2 separate regions of the Homo sapiens genome follow, and region 1 is linked to region 2. Evidence: promoter capture Hi-C in human tissues and cell types (Jung and others, 2019). All regions are on one chromosome and are shown on one strand. The core of a region is centred on a gene start or on the middle of the fragment in contact, and the rest is flanking DNA. Distances in the headings are between cores, read along the strand shown. Region 1 overlaps AKAP8L (A-kinase anchoring protein 8 like). Region 2 holds the start of NOTCH3 (notch receptor 3).

The links. Contacts are between HindIII fragments. The study calls those that stand out against the background at their distance.
Region 1: a fragment that was not itself captured here is called in contact with the fragment with the promoter of NOTCH3 in region 2 in 1 of the 25 tissues and cell types used here (IMR-90 fibroblasts).

The regions. Positions count from the first base shown.
Region 1 is chr19:15,391,473-15,394,614 of GRCh38, forward strand. The region is part of intron 12 of AKAP8L (A-kinase anchoring protein 8 like); the gene reads right to left. Among named protein-coding and RNA genes, the nearest start is that of AKAP8, 13 kb to the left of the region's middle. The HindIII fragment of the contact is 4,231 bases long and covers 1-3,142 here.
Region 2 is chr19:15,199,582-15,202,496 of GRCh38, forward strand. NOTCH3 (notch receptor 3) reads right to left here and starts at 1,414. Exons shown (of 33, transcript NM_000435.3): 1 at 1,207-1,414. The coding sequence starts at 1,324. RefSeq lists a silencer at 484-710 and enhancers at 1,297-1,798, 1,799-2,298. The HindIII fragment of the contact is 7,500 bases long and covers 1-2,915 here.

The DNA.
Region 1 (3,142 bases), core at 580-3,079, 190 kb after region 2:
AAAAAAAAATCCACTAAAAACTATTAGAACTAATAAACATTATTTTATGTTTTTATTTTTATTTTATTTTATTTATTTATTTTTTGAGATGGAATCTCGCTGTGTCTCCCAGGCACAGTGCAGTGGTGCGATCTCAGCTCACTGCAACCTCCGCCTCCCGGGTTCACGCCATTCTCCTGCCTCAGCCTCCCAAGTAGCTGGGACTACAGGTGCCCGCCACCACACCTGGCTAATTTTTTGTATTTTTAGTAGAGACGGGGTTTCACCATGTTAGCCAGGATGGTCTGGATCTCCTGACCTCGTGATCTCCCGCCTCAGCCTCCCAAAGTGTTGGGATTACAGGCATGAGCCACTGCGCCCAGCCTTATGTTTTTATTTTTTAGAGACAGGGTCTTGCTCTGTCACTCATGCTGGAGTGCATGGTAGGATCATAGCTCACTGCAACCTCAACCTCATAGGCTCAAGCCATCCTCTTACCTCAGCCTCCTGCGTAGCGGGGACTACAGGCACTTGCCGCCACACCTGGCTAACTTGTTTCTTTTATACAGACAGGGTCTCACTATGTTGCCCATGCTGGTCTCAAACTCTTGGACTGAAGCAATCCTCCCACCTTCACCTCCTAAAGTGTTTGGATTACAGGTATGAGCTATAATGCCTAGCCATAGCTGAAATATTATTAAAATTATGAAATATTAAAAACAAATAGTTCAGTGAGGTTGTAGGGTATAATATCAATATATTGGCTGAGCACAGTGGCTCATGCCTATAATCCCAGCACTTTGGGAAGCTGAGGCAGGAGGACTGCTTGAGCCCAGGAGTTTGAGACCAGCCTGGGCAACATGGTGAAACCCTGTCTCTACAAAAAATACAAAAATTAGCTGGGCATAGTGGCACATGCCTGTAGTCCCAGCTACTTGGGAGGCTGAGGTGGGAGGATTACCTGAGCCCAGGAGGTTGGAGGCTGTAGTGAGTCATGATGGTGCCACTGCACTCCAGCCTAGGCAACAGAGTGAGACCCTATTTCAAGAATAAAAAAAAAAAGTATTTTTATACACATGCAAAAAAAATCCAAAAATATCAAGAAAACAATTCCATTCATAATAGTAACAGAAAGAATAAAATACTTATAAATAATCTTAACAGGCCGGGCCTGGTGGCTCATGCCTGTAATCCCAGCACTTTGGGAGGCTGAGGTGGGTGGATCCCCCAAGGTCAGGAGTTCAAGACCAGCCTCGCCAACATGGTGAAACCCTGTCTACCAAAAATACAAAAAATTAGCTGGGCGTGGTGGTGCGTGCCTGTAATCCCAGCTACTCAGGAGGCTGAGACAGGAGAATTGCCTGAACCCAGGAGGCGGAGGTTGCAGTGAGCCAAGATGGCACCACTGCATTCCAGCCTGGGCAACAAGAGCAAAACTCTGTCTCAAAAAAAAAAAAATCTTAACAATAAAGAACAAAGCTTACACCCTGAAAACTACAAAACCTTTGAAAGAAATTAATTCATTTACTAGATCTCAGTAAATGAAAAGACATCCCATATTCATGGATTAGAAGACTTAATAGCTATGGTCAACTGACTTTCAACAAAGATGCCAAGATCATTCAATGGGGGGAAAACAGTCTCTTTCATTTCTTTTTCAAATGGTGCCGGAACAACTTAATATCTAGATGCAAAAAATAAAGTTAGAACCTTACCTCATACGATATAAATAAATTAACTCAAATGGAACAAAGACCTAACTGCAAAAGCTAAAACCATAAAATTCTTAGAAGAAAACACAGGGGTAAATCTTCGTGACCTTGGATTTATCAATAGATTCTTAGTTATGACACCCAAAGCATAAGCAATAAAAGAAAATTGGACTTTATAAAAATTAAAACTATTGTGCTACAAAGGACACATCAAGAAGGTGAAAAAACCCACAGAATGGGTGAAAATATTTGTAACTCATATCAAATATGGGACTTTACAAAAAGAACTCTACAAAAGACAACACAATTAAAAAATGCACAAAGAACTTGAATAGACATTTCTCCAAAGATACAAAAATGGCCAACCAGCCCATGAAAAGATGCCATTAGTCAGTTATCAGGGCTACGCAAATCAAAACCACAATGAGATACTACTTCCCACCCACTAGGATGACTAGATCAAAAAGTCAGAAAATGCCGGGCGCGGTGGCTCATGCCTGTAATCCCACCACTTTAGGAGGCCAAGACAGGGGGATCACCTGAGGTCGGGAGTTCGCGATCAGACTGACCAACATGGAGAAACCCCGTCTCTACTAAAAATACAAAATTAGCCAGGCGTGGTGGCACATGCCTGTAATCCCAGCTAGGAGAATTGCTTGGACCCGGGAGGCAGAGGTTGTGGTGAGCCGAGATCGCGCCATTGCACTCCAGCCTGGGCAAGAAGAGCGAATCTCTGTCTCAAAAAAAAAAAAAAAAAAAAGTCAGAAACTAAGTGTTGGTGAGTATGTGAAGAAATCAGGACCCTTATATGTTGCTGGTGGAAATGTAAAATGGTGCACAGTCACTTTGGAAAATAGTCTCACAAGTTAAAGTGTTATTATTTGATCAAGACATTCCAGTCCTAGTCATATACTCAAGAAAAATGAAAACATATGTCCACATAAAAACTTGCACAATAATGTTTCTAAGAGCATTATTCATAATAGCCAAAAGGTGAAAACAACCCAAACACCCAAAAAGATAAATAAACAAAATGTGCCACATCTATCTACACAATGGAATAATATGAAGCCATATGAAGGAATGAAGTTCTGATACATGCTACAATGTGGCTGGACCCCAAAAACATCATGCTTAGTGAAAGAAGCCAATCACAGAAGACCACATATTATGTGATTCTGTTTATATGAAGTGTCTAGAATAAGCAAATAGAGAGAGATAGATTAGTAGCTGCCTAAGGCTGGAGGAGGACAAGAGGTTGGGGGGGCTGATAGCTAAAGGGTTTCTTTTTAAGGTGATGAAAATATTCTGTAATCGACTGGTTGATGACTGCAGAATTCTGTGAATACGTGAAAAACCAATGAATTGGTTTTTTTTTTCATTTGTTTGGTTTTTTTAGAGACAGGGTCTTGCTCTGTTGCCCAGTCTGGACTGTGGTGGTGCAATCATAA
Region 2 (2,915 bases), core at 164-2,663:
GCTGGGTGTGTCTTTCCTGAGCCAGGTGTGCAAGTCTGCGAGTGTGCTGTGTGTGTGCAGGTTTGCATCTCTGTTACGTGACCTAGAGCTATGTGTGCCAGCGAGTGTGTCACAGGCCATGTGTGTGCGCCGCTGGTCCGGCGGAGGCGGCGGCTCCTGCCTGGTCCTGCCCCGTCCGGGCCCCGGGGCTGGGCTGGGGAGGCCGTTCACTCCCGAAACCCCCACCCCGCCCAGCGCCAAGCCCCACACTGGCGTCTGGGACCCCTGGCCAGGGGCCTTGGCCCGCGCCCCTCCCCCGCCCACCAGGCCTCCCGTAGCGGTGAGGGGGGTGCCCCCGCAGCCCCCTCCCCGGCCCAGCCGCGGGTCCCGCTTTGTCTGGCAAAGAAAGCGCGAGGCCGGCCGGAGGGAGGGGGTGTCTAGACGGCGCGGCCATTGTCCCGAGCGGGGGAGGGGAGGGAGGAGAGGAGGAGGGGCGGGGGCCCCTGGCCGGCTGGGGAGGGGCTCTGGCCGCGGGGAGGGGGCGCTGGAGCCGAAGGGGAGCACGTGGGCCCTCGCCCCTTCCCCTCCCCGCGCAGGGGCGGGGTCCCAGGGCCTCCGGGTCCCCGCGGCCAGAGGAGAGAGGCGGGCTGCGGGCGGGGGAGGGGGCGCGCGCGCCGCCGAGGCTCCGGCTCGGAATCCGGCTCCGGGTCTTGCTGCGCGCCGGCCTGGGAAGTTTTCTCCGAGTTCAGAGCTCCCAGAACTTCGCGCCCCCTCCCCACCCCCCGCCTGGCCCAGCCCGCCCGGGGTGTCGGGGGCGGGGTGGGGGGGCTTTTGTGCGAGAGGTCCCCGGCCTAGAAGTACCTGGGCCCCCAATCATAACCTACCCAGGACTCCAGGCGTGAGTTGGATGGGGACGAGTCCCGAACTCTGTACGCACCCCCCCACCTCGAGTCCCTGATCCCCGCACCTCGAGCTCCCAGTCTCGGACTCCTGGGTCCCTTCATCTTCAGCTCTAATCGCTCAAGGGTCCCTGTTCCTTGGGCCTCTGGGGTCCTCCCCATTCTGAATCTCTGGGTCCTCCAGGACTGGCATGAAGCCCGGGGCTCCTGCGCCCCTTCCCCGACCCTGGTTCCTGCCTCCCATGAACCCCCGCCAGCCCCGGCCTTGGGGGTTCTTGCACTCCCCCTCTGCCGCCCTCGTCCCATCCGCCAGGTCCCGGCCCCTCACCTGCAGCCCCCGGCCCCGCTAGCAGCAGCAGCAGGGGCAGCGCCCGCACGGGTGGCGGTGGCGGTGGCGGCGACATCGGGCGACGGCGGCGGCGGCGGCCACGGGCCCCCGGCCCCATGGCGGCCGGCCGCGACCCTCCCCTCCTCCCTCCTTCCCTGGGCTCCGGGCGCGTCCCGGGCCAGCCTCCGCGCCGCCAACTTCGCCGAAGTGAGGCGGCCGGGCCGCCCCGCCCCCAGCCCTCGAAGGCTCGCCCCGCCCCGGGGCCGGCCCAGCGCGCCCCCGCCCCCCGCCCGGCCTCCCGGGGTCCCTGCCCACCCTCCACCCGCACAGCCTGGGACGCGCGGACCCTCGGAAACCCAGGCCGAGCATGCAGTGAGACGCGGGCAGAACCCGGAGTGGCGGGCACACCCAACCTCGTGAACGCCCACGCACCCCATCCCCATCCCCCAGTACACACCCAGAGCCGGACACCTCTGGAGCCGGGACAAAAAACACAGCCTCCCAGAAACTCTGGAAACTGAGGCCAGTCACGTCCTGAGAGGCTCATGGACCCACAGCCACGGACGCACAAATGCAAGCCCATGCACCAAGCTTCCCCAGGACTCTGATCTAAAACATTCACAAACCTAAAAGTCGGACCGGGCGCGGTGGCTCCGGCCTGTAATCCCAGCACTTTGAGAGGCAGAGGTGGATGGATCACTTGAGGTCAAGAGTTGGAGACCAGCCTGGCCAACATGGTGAAACCCGGACTCTACTGAAAATACAAAAATTAGCTGAGCGTGGTGGCGCACGCCTGTAGTCCCAGCTATTCGAGAGGCTGAAGCAGGAAAATCGCTTCAACCCAGGAGGCTGAGGTTGCACTTAGCCGAAATCGTACCACTGCGCTCCAGCCTGGGCAACAGAGTAAGACCCTGTCTCAAACAAAACAAACAAACAAAAAACCGCTAAAACTCACTCAGCCAGGCCAGGAGCCTAGGACTACATTTGCAGCCTCAGACCTCAGACACGTACTAGGAGTCACATGCATGTGTGTGTGTTCACACATGCACACACAAACTCTTCTTGCTCTCAGCCCTCCCAGAAAGCAACCCACTTCCTCTGTGACTCTCAAAGGGTCACCCCAGCCCCCTAGTCCCACCCCCATACCCCACACAGCTTTGGGCCTCAGCCTATCTGGCTCAATTTGATTAATTCTCTTTTCTTTTTTTTTTTTTTTTTGAGACAGCGTGTCGCTCTGTCACCCAGGCTGGAGTGCAGTGTCCCTATCTTGGCTCACTGCAAGCTCTACCTCCCAGGTTCAAGCGATTCTCCTTCCTCAGCCCCCACCCCCACAATCTGCCAAGTAGCTGGGATTAGAGGTGTGCGCCACCATACGTGGCTAATTTTTTCTGGGTTTTTGTTTACTTGTTTGTTTGTTTTTGAGACGGAGTCTCGCTCTGTTGCCCAGGCTGAAGTGCAGTGGCATGATCTCCGCTCACTGCAAGTTCCGCCTCCTGGGTTCACACCATTCTCCTGCCTCAGCCGTCCGAGTAGCTGGGACTACAGGCAACTGGCACCATGCTCTGCTAATTTTTTTTTTGTATTTTTAGTAGAGACGGGGTTTCACCGTGTCAGCCAGGATGGTCTCGATCTCCTGACCTCGTGATCTGCCTGCCTCAGCCTCCCAAAGTGTTGGGATTACAGGCGTGAGCCACCGCGCCCAGCTTCTA